Regions from separate parts of the Homo sapiens genome. Here all the other regions are linked to region 1. Evidence: promoter capture Hi-C in 16 types of primary human blood cells and fetal thymus (Javierre and others, 2016). All regions are on one chromosome and are shown on one strand. The core of a region is centred on a gene start or on the middle of the fragment in contact, and the rest is flanking DNA. Distances in the headings are between cores, read along the strand shown.

The links. Contacts are between HindIII fragments. The CHiCAGO score rates a contact against its expected background, and 5 or more counts as called.
Region 2: a fragment that was not itself captured here is called in contact with the fragment with the promoter of SYCP2 in region 1 in 1 of 17 cell types (neutrophils); the score reaches 5.9 in neutrophils.
Region 3: a fragment that was not itself captured here is called in contact with the fragment with the promoter of SYCP2 in region 1 in 2 of 17 cell types (neutrophils and monocytes); the score reaches 5.5 in neutrophils.
Region 4: a contact is called between a fragment that was not itself captured here and the fragment with the promoter of SYCP2 in region 1, in 1 of 17 cell types (neutrophils). The highest score is 5.4, in neutrophils.

The regions. Positions count from the first base shown.
Region 1 is chr20:59,932,154-59,935,333 of GRCh38, forward strand. It overlaps SYCP2 (synaptonemal complex protein 2), which reads right to left and starts at 1,484. Exons shown (of 45, transcript NM_014258.4): 1 at 1,416-1,484; 2 at 1. It also overlaps a transcript of FAM217B not described here. RefSeq lists a silencer at 1,775-2,174. The HindIII fragment of the contact is 1,592 bases long and covers 1,317-2,908 here.
Region 2 is chr20:60,244,083-60,247,262 of GRCh38, forward strand. All of the region lies in intron 3 of MIR646HG (MIR646 host gene), which reads left to right. Among named protein-coding and RNA genes, the nearest start is that of MIR646, 63 kb to the right of the region's middle. The HindIII fragment of the contact is 4,957 bases long and covers 1-3,180 here.
Region 3 is chr20:60,222,248-60,225,427 of GRCh38, forward strand. All of the region lies in intron 3 of MIR646HG (MIR646 host gene), which reads left to right. Among named protein-coding and RNA genes, the nearest start is that of MIR646, 85 kb to the right of the region's middle. The HindIII fragment of the contact is 2,453 bases long and covers 345-2,797 here.
Region 4 is chr20:60,190,296-60,193,475 of GRCh38, forward strand. The region is part of intron 3 of MIR646HG (MIR646 host gene); the gene reads left to right. Among named protein-coding and RNA genes, the nearest start is that of MIR646HG, 53 kb to the left of the region's middle. The HindIII fragment of the contact is 1,520 bases long and covers 713-2,232 here.

The DNA of each region.
Region 1 (3,180 bases), core at 234-2,733:
TCTGCAGGCAGATAAAAGCGTTACGGATAAAAACAACAACAAAGAAAACAATTTGGCAGATGGGGGAGGCAAAGATTTTCCCCCAAAGGAAAAACTGCTGAATGAATGCAAGCAGCAGTAGATAATTCAAAGTCCCCTCTGCCCTGGTAACTAACATAGCTAAGGTGTCCAAAAAGACATTAAAGGTGAATGAAGGGGAGGGAAGGCGTCCTCCTCCTCCCATCATTACTAAAAAATGTAGGCCGGGCGAGGTGGCTCACACCTGTAATCCCAGCACTTTGGGAAGCCGAGGCAGGTGGATCACCTGAGGTCAGGAGTTCGAGACCAGCCGGGCCAACATGGAGAAAACCCGTCTCTACTAAAAATACAAAATTAGCTGGGCGTGGTGGCGCGCCAAGTAGTCCCAGTTACTCCGGAGGCTGAAGCAGGAGAATCGCTGGAACCCGGAAGATGGAGGTTGCAGTGACGCGAGATCGCACCACTAAACTCCAGCCTGGGTGACAGAGCGAGACTCCGTCTCGGGAAAAAAAACAACAAAAAAAAACCACGCTGCCGTATTCGCAGATGCTCGGCCAGCCTGGAGCCCGGTCCAGAAAAGGCCGCACGTGGAGCCACGTGTCGCGCATTGAGCCGCCGCGGGACGCATCAGGCCCAGCTGCGCGGAGGGGCTGGCGGCCTCAACCGCAAGGAGAGGCCGCAGGTGGGGACGGCGGGAGGGAGAGAAGGGACTGAAGGCGCCGAGCAGGAGGAAGGTTTTGCGCGCACTCCCTTCTTCCCTAAGTGGAACCGGCAGTGGCAACAACGAGGCCGAAGGCGAAGTCCCTGCTCCCACCGCCGGCACGGTGACCCTTTTCCCAGGGTCACCCCCGAACCAACAAAGCACACACACACCCGAGATGCGCCCCAGGCCGCAGCGCCAACCCCCCTTCAGATGTCCCGGAGACAGGCGAGCAGCGGTCCCCAGGGCTCCCGTCGCCACCGCTTCTCCCGCACCCCTCAGCCTCCTCGGGCCGGCGACGCGCGCAGCCCCAGGCCTGCTCCCCGCTCGCCAAGCGCACCGCCCCGCGCCTCAGCCACCTTGACCGAGTCGCCCACGCGCGGGGGCGGCTCCGAGCGCCCATTTCCCATCCCCGAGGCCGAGGCTGGCCAGGCAGGTGCTGATGGGGAGCCTCGCGCCTGCGCGAGCCACCCTCGCCGCGAACTCTGCACAGCCCACGCCCTGGCCCAGCCTCGGCGCCTCCCCTCCGCCCACTGCCGCAGAACCGCACCCCCTCCCCCTCGGCAGCTTCCACAACGGCTCCGCCTCAACCGTCGGAAGCTTCTCGCCTGCCGGCTTGAAAGGCCAAGCCGAAGCCCCACCCTCCCTCCGCGCCCCGCCGTGGGGGAAGCCCACCCAGGCACTCTGCTCAACCTGCCTGCGGCAGGAGGCGTCCGCGTAGTGTCGGTGGAGCCGCCCCCTATGCCGCCGAGCGTCGCAACTCTGCGCCTCAGGGACCGCCGCAGCGCCTCCGGCGAACGGCGGAAGGCGGGAAGCGCCCGTCCAATCCGCGCCAGGTGCGGTCGATAGTGCGTCCAATCGGCGTCGCCGCCAGCCAGGTCCCGCCCCCCCCATCCCCCCCACCCCCGCCAACGCTCGCCGGGGTCGCCCGAGGCCTGAGCCAAGGGGGACGCTGTGGGCGCGGCTCAGGCCAGGCCCTCAGGTTAGTGGGTCCCCGCTGTCCCCGCGCTTCGGCCCGTCCTCTCGCGCTATGCTCTCCTGATGAACGCCCCGCGAGCGGAGTCACCCCCGCCAGCGAGGAGACTCGCTGCCTTGACTGGGGCCCTGGTCCCGGGACAGGCGAGCAGGAAGGGATGGAAGGGACGGAAGCGCGGGCGGGACCAGGAGAAGCCCATCCCCGCGCTATGCGTCCCCAGAGCCACTGGGACCCGCGGCTCCAGCCAGCCCTGCAGGGGCGAGCTGGACCGGGGGACCAGGGCGCCGGGCCGACGACTCCTGGGTGAGGCCTGGCTCCTGCCGGCAGGGGGCGCAGGGCCGCCTGGGCTCCTGGGTGCGGGTGCCGGAGGGCGGGAGAGACCGCAGGTCCGGAGACGGGGTGCTGAGCTGGGTACCCAACTGTGTATTCCTAGGCTCTTTCAGACGCTTCCATTTAAGAGATCCGTTTAACTTATGCAGCCAGCGGGTGCTTGTGTAAAAAATCGCAGGCCCTTCTGAGACAGGCACAGCCGCGAAAGGGTCTCCTTGCCCCTTGGCTCGCAGAGGGCGTCGGTGTTCGGCGCTCAGTCTTCTGCGTGTTTTCCCCGTGCTCGCGTTCTGAGATGGAAACTGTTCCACGTGCACTGAGATGCAGCTCGGTCTTTCTAACAGCTTCGTAATTATTTAATCATGTGGATTAACTTCATCCGAGGAATTCAATCCTCCACTGATGAGCCTACACTTCTATTACAAATAATACTGCAGCAAACCACCTTTGGATTAATATTTGTGTCGGATCAATTTTTAAAAGTTGAATTGTATGTGTAGTTAAACTTTTATAGGTATCTTCAAATCAAAATTTAAAATTATATTTTAATAACATTTTAATTTCTTATCTAAAAGGCACTAATTGTTTAAAAATATGGGATTAAGATTTAAATGTGCGGTGGAAAGCACCTGAAAAAAATAAACACAAGGTAATAGAATCAAAGCTCAGTTGTGGACCAGAGCAGATCAAATCACAGTAAATAAGCTCTCAGAGGTGTTTTAAATATTCTGCTTAGCTAGAATTACCAACTTCTTGACAACTTTGTAACTACCCCCATTGAACTTAATTTTGATATCTTAGTTTTTTAATTCAGAGCTGACAGATTACATATGCAATCTAAGGTACACAGGTGTACGCAGGGATTTGAGGGGATTTTATATGTTCAAAGCTTTCAATGCTTTTGAATTATACGTTTAAGTACTAATAATGTATAACACAAAATGTAAGAAGATCGAAGAGTGCTTCAAAATTGTGACCTGGCAATTTTGCATAATTATTTTCATACCTAGTTTTCCGCCAATAGATCTAAGATCCTTCATGGTGGAGTTGCGAACGCACAGAAATTTTCCTAATACACTTCAAAAATTAATAGTGATGATTTTTTACCTTGCCGCTTTTTAGTTGAAGAAAAATGTTAGTCTTTTTTATTGCTTCATGT
Region 2 (3,180 bases), core at 418-2,917, 310 kb after region 1:
CTGAGGCCAGGCGCTCTGTTCTCACTGGCTGTGCATCGAAGTTATTTTAAAGGCCCTGGAAGGGCTGAGAGCCAGGGAGAGACAAGGGGCAGAAAGAAGAGAGCATGTGGAGTTTAGCAGGTGCACTGGATGGAGGATGGAGAAACACCCAGTTCAGTGACCTACATACAGCAAGATCAGCAAGATCTTCTAGGAGCTTCCAGGAGACACGCCCCATCCTACAGATGGACTTAGTTCTATGAACACGGGGTCCAAGGAGGACCCACAGGCATCTGGGGATGCTAACATAGGGTGGCCTCTACAGAGCCCTTGCTGCATCTGGTTTAGGTTGGCTCAGAGAGAAAGATGTCCAGAGTGGAGGTGAGGGGAGTGGAGAGAGGAATGGGAGGGCTAAAAGGGCAAGGGACCTGGAGAGAAAAGGAAGAGAGTGAGGAGAGAGGGAGATGGATGGATGGATGGGAAAGGAGAAGAAAAGGTAGAAGGCTGGATGGAGAACATCTCTCTACAGACAAAGAAGACGGGGAGGAAGAGTGAGGAGAGACGAGGGGAAAAAGAACTGAGGCAAGGGGAGAGAGAGAGGGTAAAGGAGGGAAAGACAGATATGGAGAAAGAAATGGAGACCTAGAGACAGAGACAGAGGTGGAGAGAGATGGAGAAATAGAGCGATAGGGAGAGGGAGATTTCTTTCAGGAGAGCAGAGTGCGCTCCCTATCTGGAGCCTGAAGAATGGCTCTGCTCCTCCTGCTTTCTTCCTCCCACCCTTTCACCTCCCTTTTCGCTCTGGAACATTCCCTGAGGTCCCCTAATGCACTTAACTATTGCCTTGCTAACCAAGGCCTACACTTGCTGGCTGAAAACCACGTCAGTGGTTTCACCCAGAAAAACCACGTTCAGCATTCAGCTTCCAACAATAAGTGGCATAAGTAATAGCATGGGACCCCCTTTGCTGGAGGGGCTTCCTGACAATTTGTTCTCTCTGCGATGTTGAGACTGATTGCCTGGGAAAGACAATGAAATCACACGGGAAGTCCTATTATTGGGGTGAACCGTGTGACTCACTGGCTGCACAGTGGTGCATGGGGCATGGGGCGTTATTTGGGACTCTCTGGGAAGCATTAGATATGAAATTACTTTGCATGATGCAGCTCAGACGTGAATAGTGCAATGCTCAGGACTACATGATTCAGTGAGAAAATATAAATGGAAAATTACTGGAGCTGAAATTTTATTGCAAAGTTATTTATCTTTGTTATTACTTTCTGAATCCTTTTGTGCTTTTTGTTCACAGCGATGGATAGAGGCACTCTTACTTACACTTTAAGTAGAGATTAGGAGGGGAAAATATTCCTCGCTGTACCACAAAATACAGATTAAGTCTCAGCTCAGGCCTCTGATTTCACCCATTACAATGAAATGTCTACAAACTGAAATAATAACAATAAAAAAATTTTGTAGTCTTTTCCGCAGACAGTTCACATGGCTTCCTACTGATTCCATTTAGCCTTTCTTATTAGAATATTAATGGCAAAAATAGAGCTCTGATGGAGACGTGCCTGGGATTTCATAATTGCACGGACTCCAGCTTGTAACCCAGGTATTCAGAAGATGGGGCTGGGAATTTTGTTGAATCAGACCCGTAAGATAACACCAAAATCAATAATCTAAATAGCCACCCTTTACTTTTTCAAAGAGCTCTATTATGTTTAGGATTGTCACCAATATTCTCTTCTTTGATTATTTTTTAAACTGTATATGGTTTTTATTAAAAGAAAAACTAATTTTGCTTATAAAATAAAAATATGCATTGCAAAATATATGTATACATAAACATACACATTTAAGAGAGTTTTAACAAAAGATTTTCTGTTTTTACATTATTATCATGCAAGAATTTGCTGCTGTATTCAGAGAGGAAGAAATAAGAGTTTTCCTTTTCTCTTCTCTGGTTTTTACAGTCATGCCGTGAGGGCCCAGAGACTGTGTCACTGTTGTGATGATAGAGTGCAGGGCCCTTCAAAGGGAGGTCTGTGGGCCAGCAGCACCCAAGGTAACCCTGGGGAGCTTGTCAGAAGAATTCAAAATGTGCGTCCTGGGCCCCCACCCTGGACCTGTGTGGTGGGGCCCAGGAATCTGTGTTTTAACAATGGGTTCAAGGTGGACATGCTTGGATACAGAGGCCTTTTCACTGGTAGATGTTGCCACTGGGTGGGAATTAGGATATTGTGTCTGGAGTCAAATTGCCTGGGTTCAAACCTCAGCCCCACCACTCTGTCCCTTAACTCTGTGGTATCAGGTAAGTTATTTTTTTCACTTATGTATTTATTTATTTGAGGCAGAGTTTCGCTCTTGTTGCCCAGGCTGGAGTGCAATGGTGCAGTCTCAGCTCACTGCAACCTCTGCCTCCCGGGTTCAAGTGATTCTCCTGCCTAAGCCTCCCAAGTAGCTGGGATCACAGGCACCTGCCACTATGCCCAGCTAATTTTTGTATTTTTAGTAGAGACAGGGTTTCACCATGTTGGCCAGGCTGGTCTTGAACCCTTGACCTCAGGTGATCCACCTGCCTTGGCCTCTCAAAGTGTCGGGATTACAGGTGTGAGCCACTGCTCACTTGCTTATCTTAAAATAATGCCTTGGCAGTGGGGTGAGGTGCAGTGGGGGACATTTTGGGGTGCTTGCAAGTGTGTATCCTCATTCTCTGTTAATCCCAAAGGGCTCTCCTCCCAAGCACCCAACGAGCAAGATGGGTCTGAGGATACCTGTGAGAAGTAATTCAACACATCTTTCACACATGGGCCAATTTGCTGGTCTAAGTTAAATTGGAGTGACAAGGACAGCTGCTTAAAGAGTGAGTTCTAAAGCCCCAGGAATTAGGTGATGTCTTGAGCTGGGGTGAAGCAAGGCAAGTGGGATGGGGAGAGATGGCTGGCTTCTGCAGGAGTGAGGCTAAGGGAGGAAGGCAGGGCTGCCCGGCAGCCCGCATGTTCCAGAAGAGGCCACGAGAGATGTCTGTCCCACAGGGGCTTATAGCACCTTGCACTCCCTCAAAGGGCGGTGTCTCATGTCCCCTCTGTTAGGCTCTGGGTGGGCTTTTGTGACAGCTTTGATAATGTTCTGGAAGAGATGCTGCTGGGCTTCTGGGCTCCCGCGACCCCTTAGAGAAAGTGGTGCAGCTTCTCATTG
Region 3 (3,180 bases), core at 321-2,820, 290 kb after region 1:
AAGCTCAGTCAATTATAGCAGGCAAAGAAAAATTCACTGAGAGCAGTCAGGCCACTGGCTGTGAATTGCCCACGTCTCCCTTCTACCTGCAGCTCCCAACTGCAACACAGACGGTGTTCCCTTCTTCCCTCCCTGCTTTCCTTCTTTATAACAAAGACAACCATGAGCTATGGACTGGAGACCCAGCGGGCAAGAACACGAACACTGCTCTCTCCTTTACTTCTCTCTCCAGTCTAATGGGAGAAACAGCACAAAAGAGAATGACTACCTACACAGAATACTTTTACTGTTGTGTGTGATGAGTGATGCTTTAGGTGGTTGTTACAAAGAAGGCATCTCTGAGAAGCTTGGAAAGGATGAGGAGGAGGCAATTGTTCCAAGATAGTGAACACCCGGGAGCAAGCTCCAAGGAGTGGGAGTGGCCTGTGCAAAGGCCCTGGGGCAGGGCATGAGTAGGATTTTCCAGGGAGTAAAGGAAGTTGATTGTGGCTCAGTGCTCTGAAAGGATCATGGGCCGGGGCACAGACTGTGCAGCCCAGAGGGAGGGATTTTGGAGAAATAATGGAAAAACCATTGCAGGGATTTCAGCAACAGGAAAAGCAACCTAATTTATGTGATAGGCTCATTCTTCTTGCTGTGATATAGAGAATGTATTAGAGGAGAAGAGTGGAAGTGAGGGGCCATTTGGAGGTGGTGCCAGAGCCTGGAAATAATGGTGGCCTAGACTAAGCTGATGGCATGGAGAGAATGTGCATGGATTTAAGATCTCTTAGAAGCAGAAATATAATAACCATAACATACACTATTATTATTATAACCACCACTTCCTGATAACCTACTCTGTGCTGGGCAGTGTGCTTATAGTCTCATATATAATATTCAATTTAACCCCATGCGGTAGATACTGTCTTTATCATCCATGTTTTGTAGATGAAAAAATGGAGCTTCCTAAAAATTACATTGATACAGGGCAGGGGAGCCCCAAATTGGGGCTTAGACCAAAAGGGTTCTTTGCTTCACCCAGGAAAGAATTTGAGGGTAAGCTGGTGGTAGAAGAAAATGCTTTATTGAGATGGCAGTGTTACAGCCCCGTGACTGCTCCCACAGAACAGGCCACCCCATAGGCGGTGTGCTGAGAGTAGCAGGCCAGGGCAGTTCTGCAGTCGTATTTATACCCACTTTTTAATTTAAATTTAATTTAATTTAAGTTTTTGAGACAGAGTCTCGTTCTGTTGCCCAGACTGGAGTGCAGTGGTGCGATCTCAGGGTCATAGATAGTTTTTGTAAATGCTAAAGTAATATTCAAATTTGTATTACTTTCAGAGAATAAAGAACCACCAGTCCTAACAGCCCTAGTACAGTTTTTTCTTTTCTTTTTTTTTCTGGAGATAAGACTTCAGGAACAGGAATGGAAATGTCCTTTCAGAGAATCTCATGTCTAGAAAGTCCCAGAGAGGGTCGAACCTGAAGTTCTTTTTCCCTGAAACCAGAAGGAAAACCTCAGCTTGGGCTTAGGGCCTGTTCTGCCTCTGGAAACATCTCTGTTCTCCCATATATTATATTCCCCACTATGTGATGGCCCCTCACATTAGTCAGGAGTGCCTAGAACGTGTGTCCCTCACCGCCTTCCCAGGGGGTCTGCCCCCCAGAATGCCTGGCTTCACTTTCTACCTCTTTTGCAGAGCTTGCCTTGGCAAAACCATCCCCAACACCTCTCCTTCCACAACTCCCGTCCACCCCATTCTCCTCTCCTGCTTTGCCCATGATGATAATCACTAACATTTATTAAGCGGTTACTCTTTATCGAGAGTTTTGAAAGTGCTGCCTTGTTGGGCCCTGCCAGCCTCCCCAACAAGTAGGAGTTGTCCTATACATTCTGCTTACACATATGGAAACTGAGGTTTAGAGAGGTTTCAGGAACTTGACCAAGTCAGTCATGCTGGTGAAAGGTAGCCTGGGATTCCAGCCTCCATCCCTTTGAACAGCTGTGTCTCTGTTTCTCCATCTCCTCCTTGAGGTCAGGGCCTCATTGTCTCAGTAACTTCAGCGCTAGCAGAGTGCTGGGTGTGCGGGCACCCAGTACACATTTGCTGAGTTGAACTGAGTGCTAGAGAATGTTTGAGTGCATTGGAATGTTTGAGCTGGGCCAGATGCAAACCCAAGGTGTCCCATTGTCACAACCAGACACGGCGGCTGTACCCAGGTATGACAAAATGCTGCTGCTGCAGCTGATGGCAGGAAATCATGATGGAACACCTATTTTGTGTCAGACGCTGTGGAAAGCAATTCACAAAGTCATCTTCTATGGCCTGAACGTGATCTCCCCAAATTTATATTTTGAATCCTAATCTCTAATGTAATTGGGATTAGTGACTTTATTTTAAAAAGGCCCTGGAGAGACTCTTCAGCCCTTCTACCACTTGAGAGCATAGCAAGAAGACAGCCGTCTAGGAACCAGGAAGCCGGACCTCACTAGACATTGAATGTGTGGCATCTGAGTCTTGGACTTCCAGCCCCCACAACTGTGAGAAATGCATATTTTATTTTATTTTGTTTTGTTTTATTATTATTATTTTTTGAGACGGGGACTCTGTCTGTCACTCAGCCTGGAGTGCAGTGACACAATCATAGTTCACTGCAGCCTCAACCTCTCAGGCTCAAGCGGTCCTCCCTTTTCGGCCTCCCAAAATTCTGGGATTATAGGCGTAAGTCACCATGTTCATCCAAGAAATAAATTTTGTGTTGTTTATTTGGACTAAGATATCATCTTATTTTATCCTATGAAGGATCTGTTGTAAGCTTCAGTTAAGTGACTGGCCTGGCCGATGGAGACCAAACCTGGCCATGGGACTTGGGAGATGTAACCATCAGCATCACTTGCCCCCAAGGACCACCAGAGGGCAGATGAGAGGCAGGGGAGGACTCACCCTCAGAGCCCCAGGAGGAACCAACCTGGCTGACATCTTGATTTTGGAATTCTGGCCTCCAGAACTGGGAGAGAATATATTTCTGTTGTTTTAAGATGCCCAGTTGATGGTATTTTGTGAAGGCACCTCTAGGAAATGAACACAGAAGCTCAGGCAGGCCCGACTCTCAGTTCATTGGCCTCCTAGTAGGGGAGGCCTATAGAGCGTCTGTCGGGCTCACGGCAAATGACCCCCAGTTAACATTACGGTCTCC
Region 4 (3,180 bases), core at 223-2,722, 260 kb after region 1:
TTGTCCTTCCTCATACCCGGGGCGGGGGAGGAATGTTTTGCAGAAACACAGAAAAGAATCTGAACAAACCGGCCTTGCTGAAGATCCCCCCAGATTATTACCATTAGATCATACCCATTTTGTTCCATTTTACTTCTCCACAAATTAAATTTTTCATCAGACTTATTATAAAAATACATAGTTTTCCCTGGGTCTTTGAATATTCATTTCGGGAGGCTCCTCACATTAACCTTTATAAAAATAAATGTGTTATGCTTTCTCCTGGCAATCTGCCTTTTGTTACAGGGTTGTCGGTCAAGACCCTTGCCATGGGTGAGGAAAAGGTGCTTTTTCTTCCCTACACGTGGGTATTTAGTTCCCTGTAATTTTATGCCACGTGTAGATTCTTGTGAACATCACTTCAGTCCAGAAACAGCATATCCGTCATAAGGCCCCTTGTGCCACTTTGTCATAGCCACACCACGCGCTTTCCTTGTCAAACTCTGGCAACCATGGACCTGCCTCCCATCTCTAAAATTTTGCCATTTTAAGAAAGTTATATAAATGGAATCATGTACTAAGTAACCCATTGAGATTGGTGTTTTTCACTCAAGGTAATTCCCTTGAAATCCAACCAGGTTTTCTCACGCATCAGTAGTTCACCCCTTTTCATTGCTGAGAGGTATCCCACAGGGGTTTCCTTTCAGGATTGTATAAGATACACTATGTTGAAAGCTTAGAATGGTGACATTATAGGTGCCTACTGCATAATGGGACATCCTGTAATGGAAGCTGGTGCTTTTCCTCTATGCAGAAACATGATGTAATTTTTAAAAATTGAGTTCAATTACACATGCAACTTTAGGACAGAAGAGATCAAGTTACCCTGGATTAAGTGTTCAGTTACGAACGGTATTGGGAGGCTGAATTGAGATGCCTCCCTCTCCTGCAGAACTTAGAAACACTGGCTTCAACAGGGCTTTAAGAAATAGATCAACACGTAATTCCCCAGATGAGAGAGGCAGAGCCAGCTAGGGAGGGAGAGAGAAGGCTGGCTGGGACCTGGGTGAATTTATTAACAACTTCAGGATGAGGTTGTGTCATTCAAAGAAGGTTTGCTGTGCTCAGGAAGCTGTGTATAAATCCCACTGGCAAATACTGGGAGTTTCATTTAGAACCTCTCTGAGGGGTAGAGAGAGCTTTAGCCATGGAGGCAATCTGGCCAGGGTGGCAAAGCCCATCAGGTGAAGCTGATGCATCTTCCTAACCCAGTGACATTAAACATTGAACACCCCTCCCTCTTCCTGTGTCTATTCCAGGCTCCCCAGGCTATGTGCTGATTATTTGTGGTACCCCCATTGTCTGCCTGCAGGGAAATAATGCAGGAATCATAGAGACTTTGAGCATCCTGTGCCCAGCATGAGTTACTTCTCATTCTAAAATCAAACAAATGATGCTCTGAATACAAGTTGGCTTCTTATGCCTACCATGCACGGGCAATCTTTTCAATCACCATGATAATTACAGGACATTTTGCTGCCATTTATTGAACACTTATTAGGTGCCAGGCTCCCCAGGAAGCCCTCTGTGCATATTATTTTGTGTCAATCCCCGCTCCAATCCTATGAGGTAGGATTGAGAGAGGGGATTAACAATCCACAGTGTGCAGGTGGCATCACTGGGATTTGAATCTAGGTGGGTTTGATGCCAGAGTCTGTGTTCTTGACCACAAAATGACAGAGATGAGTTACTGTAAGTTAAAAATTGGCATTTGGAGCTTAGACTTCAGCTGTAAAAACTTGGCATATGTGGGGTTGCCATTGTGAGAAGGATCAGCTCTTGATGTGCTGGCAAACCAGCATCTGTAAAGTCTGTGACCACAGCCTGAACCAGGGCACATTTGCAGGCTGAAGAGGACAGTAGAAATCATGATAATGTTGTATAACAATGATGGGGGTCATTGTTTAGAATGAGCTCCGTTTTAGGCGCAACAGACCAACCAGACCAGAATGGATTCATCCATACTAAGTGCCATGTAATCAAACTGACTCATACGGACCAGTTTTCCAAAAAACAGGAGATTCCTAGCAGCAGTTGGAAGAAGCCCCATTTGTCTGAAACAGCATGATACAGAAGTTCCCTCCATTTTGACCTTATAAGGAAAGTAACCTGTAATGCCCATTCTACTTTTTATTCCTTTTTTCAGCCATAAAGTCCATCTCCTTTTCTCAGCTTACAGGATCTTCTTTCTAAAGCTTTAGATGGAATGTTGCCTGACACATGACTCACTAATGAAAGCCAGCTACATCTCTAAACTAAATTGGTGAGAATGCTACTTATTTTTTTTAACAACAGTAATAAGAGGAAGAGTAGAATAGCTAAAACTTAGTAAATGAATATTTGGGTCAAGTGCTGTTCTATGTGCTTTACACATGTTAACTCATTAATCCTTAAAACAAGCCTTTGAGATAAAAACAATGGCATTAGCTGCATTTGGTAGATGAGGAAATGGAGGCACATGGGGGCGAGGTGACTTGGTGACTTGTCCAAGTCATACAGTGGTGAGGAGCAGAGCTGGGATTCAAGCTGGACAGCCTTGGTCCAGAGGGCACATACTTCACTGTGGATCTGTGCCATCCCCTCCATTATTCAGGGCCACAATGGAGGAGCTCTGGGCCTCCTGTGCTGGGTGCTGGCCTGGCCATCCTTTGAGGGGAGGGGGACACTGCCAGGCTCTTGTTGCAGAGGAGGAAGACTAGATGCCCTGCAGTGTCTGGGAGTACTTCTAGCTGCTTCTTCTCAGGTGAGGAGGAATCATTTGATCTGTCAAAATGAGTTTGGGCCAGTGAGGGTTACCCAGGTCACAAACTCTGGTTAAGCAGAAGAGGATCTAGTAAGAGCATGAGAACTCTGCTTGGGAAATGGCAAGATCAAGGGCAGAGTTATGGTCCAGGTAGCAGGAGCTGGCACCAGGCATCTCAACTCAGTGTATCTGGTGGGAATCAGGTTAACTCTTTTCCCTATCTTGTGTCATCTTGGCTAACAGAATATCTGGGGGTTGGTGGAAAGAGAGCTCATGAGATTGCCCCAGCTTGAGTTCCAGTGCCCCTTTACCCCAACATTGCTAAGCAATGAAGCAACGGCAGGGCATCTTGACTTATAGCCAGTAACCAGCCCACCCCACCAAGCAATGGCAGGGCA